Regions from separate parts of the Homo sapiens genome. Here region 1 is linked to region 2. The links are contacts of gene promoters, found by promoter capture Hi-C in human tissues and cell types (Jung and others, 2019). All regions are on one chromosome and are shown on one strand. The core of a region is centred on a gene start or on the middle of the fragment in contact, and the rest is flanking DNA. Distances in the headings are between cores, read along the strand shown.

Region 1 (2,700 bases), core at 139-2,638, 38 kb before region 2:
CTACTCAGAAGGCTGAGGCAGGAGAATTGCTTGAACTCAGGAAGTGGAGGTTGCAGTGAGCCGAGATTGTGCCACTGCATGGCAGCCTGGGCGACAGAGTGAGACTTCGTCTCAAAACAAACATACAAACAAACAACAACAACAAAAAATCCCTCGCTTTTTTGCTGGTATCTATAGTGCTTTTTTTGCTGGTATCTATAGCTTTTGTGAGACTCAGTTTATTTAGCTTTAGCTTTCCTGATATTATTATTCTTACAAATTTTGCCTTGGGACACTCTTTCCATTCATTGATTCAGGCAATACTTATTGAGCACCTACTATTTGCCAAGCACTGGGAAGCCATTGAGAATAAAACAGTGAAGAGTTAGAAAAGGTCTCTGATCTGATGGAGGGCCTATTCTACTGGTGCTAACTGAACAAGTAATATGTGCTCTGAAGACATTAAAACAAGACAATGTGATGGGGGATGCTGAGAATCCAGTAGGAAACTACTTAGATGGGAAAATCAGGGAAGGTCCCTACAAAGGAGACATATATGCTGAAACCTCAATAAAGAGAAGCAGCCAGCCATGCAAGGATATGGAGGGAGAGCAGTTATGGCAGAGGGGTCAGCAAAGACAAAGGCCCTGAGGCAGGGAGGAGCTTAGCATGGAAGGGGAACCTGGGAGGCCGGCTGGCTGGACTTGAGTGAACATGGGGCTGAGATGAGATCAGAGGAGAGCAGAGGCCAGATCCCCCGGGCTCCTAGGTCAGGGTGGGGCTGGTGCTTAGGAGTTCTGAGGCTGACTCTGATTTAGTCTGAGGTCGGTGTCCCTCTCAATCCCGACTCACTTGTGGTCCTCTATGGCCCGCAGGCTTGTTGAAAGTGCCCCACTTCCTTCCTCACAGCAGCCTCTGTGCAATCCGAATTGCGCTGTGAATTTCCCTGCCACTCAGGAGCCCGGGGCAGGGCTTCACCCCTAGTTCAGTTACCAGGAACCAATCTTTCTCCACCTTCCTGCCCTAGCCCCACTGGGTCTGTCTCTGCATCTGTGAAATGGCTGAGTGTGACCAAATGATGCAGGTAGCCTTTCCACTTCTTTCTACCCGTGGCGCCTCGGGTGGAGGCGTGGAGTTTGATTGGAAGAGGGTAAAGCAAAAGTGGAATCCTGGCGAGAAATGAAACTGAAAGAAAAAATTCCTCCTGGAATTTTTTGGCTCTAAGGAGGCCAGCAGCGGGGGTTTGGGGTAGGAGGCAGAGGTAGAGAAGGAGGGAGGTTTTTAGAAAGCTGACCGGGCAGGAGCCCTGTGACCCAGGCTTTCACTTCTCCTAAACACCCAGTAGCGCCATGTGATGCAGGCAGGGGACTGCGGATAGGGCCTGTGAAAGGGGAAGCGAGGGGAGCCCAGAGTTTCTCAAGAAGCCGAGAGAGGGACAGAGGCTGAGCCTGGGGGGAGGGCTGCAGGGGACTGAGAGGGGAGTGTAGGCAGTGGGGGTGAGGGGGACAGGGAGGAGGTGGAGAAGACGGCAAGGGGCAGCAGGGTGACTGGGGCAGAGGGAGCCCCCACCCCACGCCCAGGGCAGGCCAGGAGTCATAAGGAGAGGGGACAACAGGAAGGGGCGACAAACGGGGAGGGGAAAGGGAGGCGGAGGGGCAGCGAAGTGAAGCAGGGAGGGTCGCAGTGTGAACAAGAGTGCGAGGAAGGGTCAAGGTGGAGGGAGGAGAGGGGAGAGTTAGGGAGAAACAGCTGCAGGAGAGGCGCGGGGAGGAAGCCTTAGGGGTGGGGGAAGGGAGAGGGGAGTTGAGAATTAGGGAGGAGGTGGTAGAGTCCGGGTAGTGAGCGGAGGGACAGGAAGGGTAGGGCAAGAAAGGGAGAGGGGACAGGAGGGAAGGGTGGGCCAAAGCGGTGAGAAAGGAGGGCCAGCCAGTTGGGTGGGGGAGAGGGCCGAGGCCCGGGGGCAGGAGTGCAGGGCTCTGAGGCGGGGAGAGGAGAGGAGAGAAGAGCCGCGGGGGGCCCAGCCCGGAGCCAGGATGCCCGCGCCGCGCGCCCGGGAGCAGCCCCGCGTGCCCGGGGAGCGCCAGCCGCTGCTGCCTCGCGGTGCGCGGGGCCCTCGACGGTGGCGGCGGGCGGCGGGCGCGGCCGTGCTGCTGGTGGAGATGCTGGAGCGCGCCGCCTTCTTCGGCGTCACCGCCAACCTCGTGCTGTACCTCAACAGCACCAACTTCAACTGGACCGGCGAGCAGGCGACGCGCGCCGCGCTGGTATTCCTGGGCGCCTCCTACCTGCTGGCGCCCGTGGGCGGCTGGCTGGCCGACGTGTACCTGGGCCGCTACCGCGCGGTCGCGCTCAGCCTGCTGCTCTACCTGGCCGCCTCGGGCCTGCTGCCCGCCACCGCCTTCCCCGACGGCCGCAGCTCCTTCTGCGGAGAGATGCCCGCGTCGCCGCTGGGACCTGCCTGCCCCTCGGCCGGCTGCCCGCGCTCCTCGCCCAGCCCCTACTGCGCGCCCGTCCTCTACGCGGGCCTGCTGCTACTCGGCCTGGCCGCCAGCTCCGTCCGGAGCAACCTCACCTCCTTCGGTGCCGACCAGGTGAGTGGCAGGAGGCCTGCCCCGGCATACTCCGGCGGGTGTGGAGGGAAGGAGGGCTGGCCCCCAGCGTGACCTGGGACAAACCAGGTCCCCTGCCTGCACTAGTTTCCTGATTTGAAAGAAGAGGGGG
Region 2 (2,771 bases), core at 169-2,668:
CGGAACTGCCTGTGCAGCCTGTTAAACAAGGACGTCTGCCCCACCCAGGGCTACTCACTCAGACTCTTCCAGAGAGGGACTCAGCCCTTTGTTTTGCAAAGCTCCTCAGGAATTTCGGATGCATAGCCAGCAGCTCAGGGAAAAGTCTAAGCAAAGCTTCAAAAGTGCAGCAGTGTACAAAGGACCCCTGACTTCCGTCCCAGGCTCAAGTGTGCCACGGACTAGAAGCTACTACCTTACGCCTGTTACTTAACCTGCCTGAGTTGCAGTCTCCTCAAACGTAAAAGGGAGTGAACCCAGGTGAAGAGTTGCTGTAAGGAGTTAAGATATTTCTGCAGCAAGCGCTTTGTAAACTAAACATCTATAGAAATGTTGCAGCACACACATTACCACTGACTATATATCGTAGCATAATTTAGCAGTTTATCAACCTGCCTTCCCCAGTAGACCGAGCGACTCCCGGTTAGACTTGACATGTTGGAATCCCCAGCGCCTAGTAGGAAAGATGACTAATAAATGTTTATTAAATGAATATTAGCAACCTGCCAAGAAACCGTGAGGGTCGAACGAGAAAGCCATGGAGAGGTGAGGAGGGAGGTTATTTTAATAGTAGATCCAAATATACAGCAGCCACACGAGAAGCACAGCTGAGTCTAAAGGAAGGTCCTAAACAAGGCGAAGCCGCCACTGCAGAGAATGAAGTCAGCGCCCTGGCAGGTTGGGGGCAGCTCCCACTAAACCCCTGACAGCTGCTGCCCAGCAACTGTTTGGGGGCAGGGCGACGGCAAAGGGGCAGCTTCCCTGCCGCTCCGCGCCCTAACCGGGGCGCAGCCTCCCGGAGACAGGGTGTCAGTGGCATGTGCTATTTCGAACGGCGCGTCCCCTGCCAAGCGCTGAGGGGTAGCGTCGCTGGCAAGGAACGTGGCGCGACCCATGAGTTTGGGGCCCCCCGAAGGGCTCGAGCCGAGGCTGCAGGAGGCTGGGCCGTGGGTCGGGGTTCGGGGGCTCGGGCTTGGCGCTGGCCTGGTCCCCACGCCCGGGAGCCGCTCCACCTCTGCCGGACCTCGGAACCTCGCCGCAACCCTCTTCTCCCCGGAAACGTGCGCCTCCCGGGTTGCCTGGAAACGACGCCCCCGGTTGCATAGCAACGGGGATCCGGGTCCCCGGTTTGTTTCGCACGCTGGGCGCGCGGACCCCTCCCCACTCGGACTCTCCAGGCCTCGCGGCTCCGCCTGGTGCCGCCTGCAGCGGCTGCTGTCTCCCCTTCCCGTGCGCTGCCCCACATTCCGACCTCGGCCCGCTCTCACCTTTCTCAGGCCACTGCTATCCTTCACGTGCGACTTCGCTGAAACGCGCCACCAAACCCGCGCCTCAACTCGGGGCGCTGGTTTACCTTCTCCGCATGCGCAAGGCGGGATGAGCTCGGAGACTAGCCGGCCTTCCTCACAATCGAAGCCTGTGCCGGGAGCGCATGCGCCCCGCTTTATCTATTGCGTTTCTTTTTCCCCCCACAAGCATTCCCACCGAGAGAAGAATGGGATCGGAAGTTCCAGCAGGGAACGGAAGTCTCTGGCTGGAAAGGGGAAATAAGTGACTATATCTGGGCTGTAGAGTGGGTAAACTGGATCTTTGAAATCGGAGTGGAAGCTAATCCTCCTCTTGCCACCACTCGGCATTTTGGGTCATGTAGTTCTAGAGCTACAAATGTTCCCTGGGGCATTGTGGGCAATGTAGTTCTAACCGAGCCGCTAACGAGCACCTAGTCTTCCCATACACTTTTCGCGCTAAAAAGGCACAAAAGAGAAAGATATTAAAGGAGCAATTAAAAGCACACTGCTCTAGGAAAACGAATGCGCTCCCCCAGAGAGAAAATTCATACCTGAATACTGTAGACGGCTCCCAAATGTTAGCTCAGAATTTCAGAGAAAGAGAGGAACCAACTCTCACTCTCCTTTTTCTGCCACAAAGGCAGTGCATAGGGACAGGAGGCAGATAAATGCTAGGTAGAAAAGAGCGGGTCCCTGGTGAAACCCCACCCTCAAGCCAAAAAGCCTGAAACCATGGCCCAAAGTGAGAACTTCTATCCATGTTTTTCCAGTTGAATGTTGCCTTTTCCTAAGCCACCCATGGCTCTGCCCTGCCTCATCCTGTGCCTAGAAAGACCCCAGACTCATCTGGCAGAGAGGAGAAGCAGCTGGATGAGGGGACGACCATGGCTGGATGTCAGAGAGAAGCAGCTTGTCTTCAGAGGGACAGCTTAAGGCGTAACTTCTGAGACGAATCTGGCTGGAGATAGCTGGACTTCAAGGGAAGACTACATACCGGCCTGTCCCACCCCCCTCTTTTCAGCTCACCTTCCCTCTGAAATCCACTTTGATCAGCAATAAAATCCCAGGCATTTGTCCTTTAATTTGTTCGTGCAGCTTTATTTTTCTTGGACGCTGGACAAGAGCTCGGGAGCCACGAGTGCGGATACAAAAGCTGTCACGCTGGCCCTCTGCCCTTGCTGGTGGAGGGCAACCGCGGGCCCACGGAGCTGTTAACACTTAAGCTGTCCACGGACGACAGAGCCAAAAGAACACTGTAACATGCCCTCTGGGGCTTCAGGAGCCTCAGGCACTCTGCCTGGACACTGCCCCGGGGCCTGCACGGAGTTCGCTCCTGCCGGTGTCCAAAAGCGCACGCTCTGGCTCCTGCACCCACTCACCTGCACGCTCCCTCCTATGAGGGGTGGAACGCGGTGAATCTTGAGTGAGTGGAGTGTGATCCCA

Evidence for each region. The method cuts DNA at HindIII sites, captures the fragments that hold promoters and counts their contacts. A contact is called where the count stands out against the background at its distance.
Region 1: a contact is called between the fragment with the promoter of SLC15A3 here and the fragment with the promoter of TMEM109 in region 2, in 2 of the 25 tissues and cell types used here (IMR-90 fibroblasts and adrenal gland).

The regions. Positions count from the first base shown.
Region 1 is chr11:60,950,864-60,953,563 of GRCh38, reverse strand. SLC15A3 (solute carrier family 15 member 3) reads left to right here and starts at 1,388. Exons shown (of 8, transcript NM_016582.3): 1 at 1,388-2,570. The coding sequence starts at 2,013. RefSeq lists an enhancer at 1,076-1,215 and silencers at 1,396-1,625, 1,946-2,105. The HindIII fragment of the contact is 25,133 bases long and covers 1-2,700 here.
Region 2 is chr11:60,912,805-60,915,575 of GRCh38, reverse strand. It overlaps TMEM109 (transmembrane protein 109), which reads right to left and starts at 1,418. Exons shown (of 4, transcript NM_024092.3): 1 at 1,308-1,418. TMEM109-DT (TMEM109 divergent transcript) reads left to right here and starts at 1,513. Exons shown (of 2, transcript NR_186356.1): 1 at 1,513-1,616; 2 at 2,099-2,410. RefSeq lists enhancers at 620-789, 184-1,182, 2,181-2,771 and a silencer at 970-1,129. The HindIII fragment of the contact is 7,495 bases long and covers 1-2,771 here.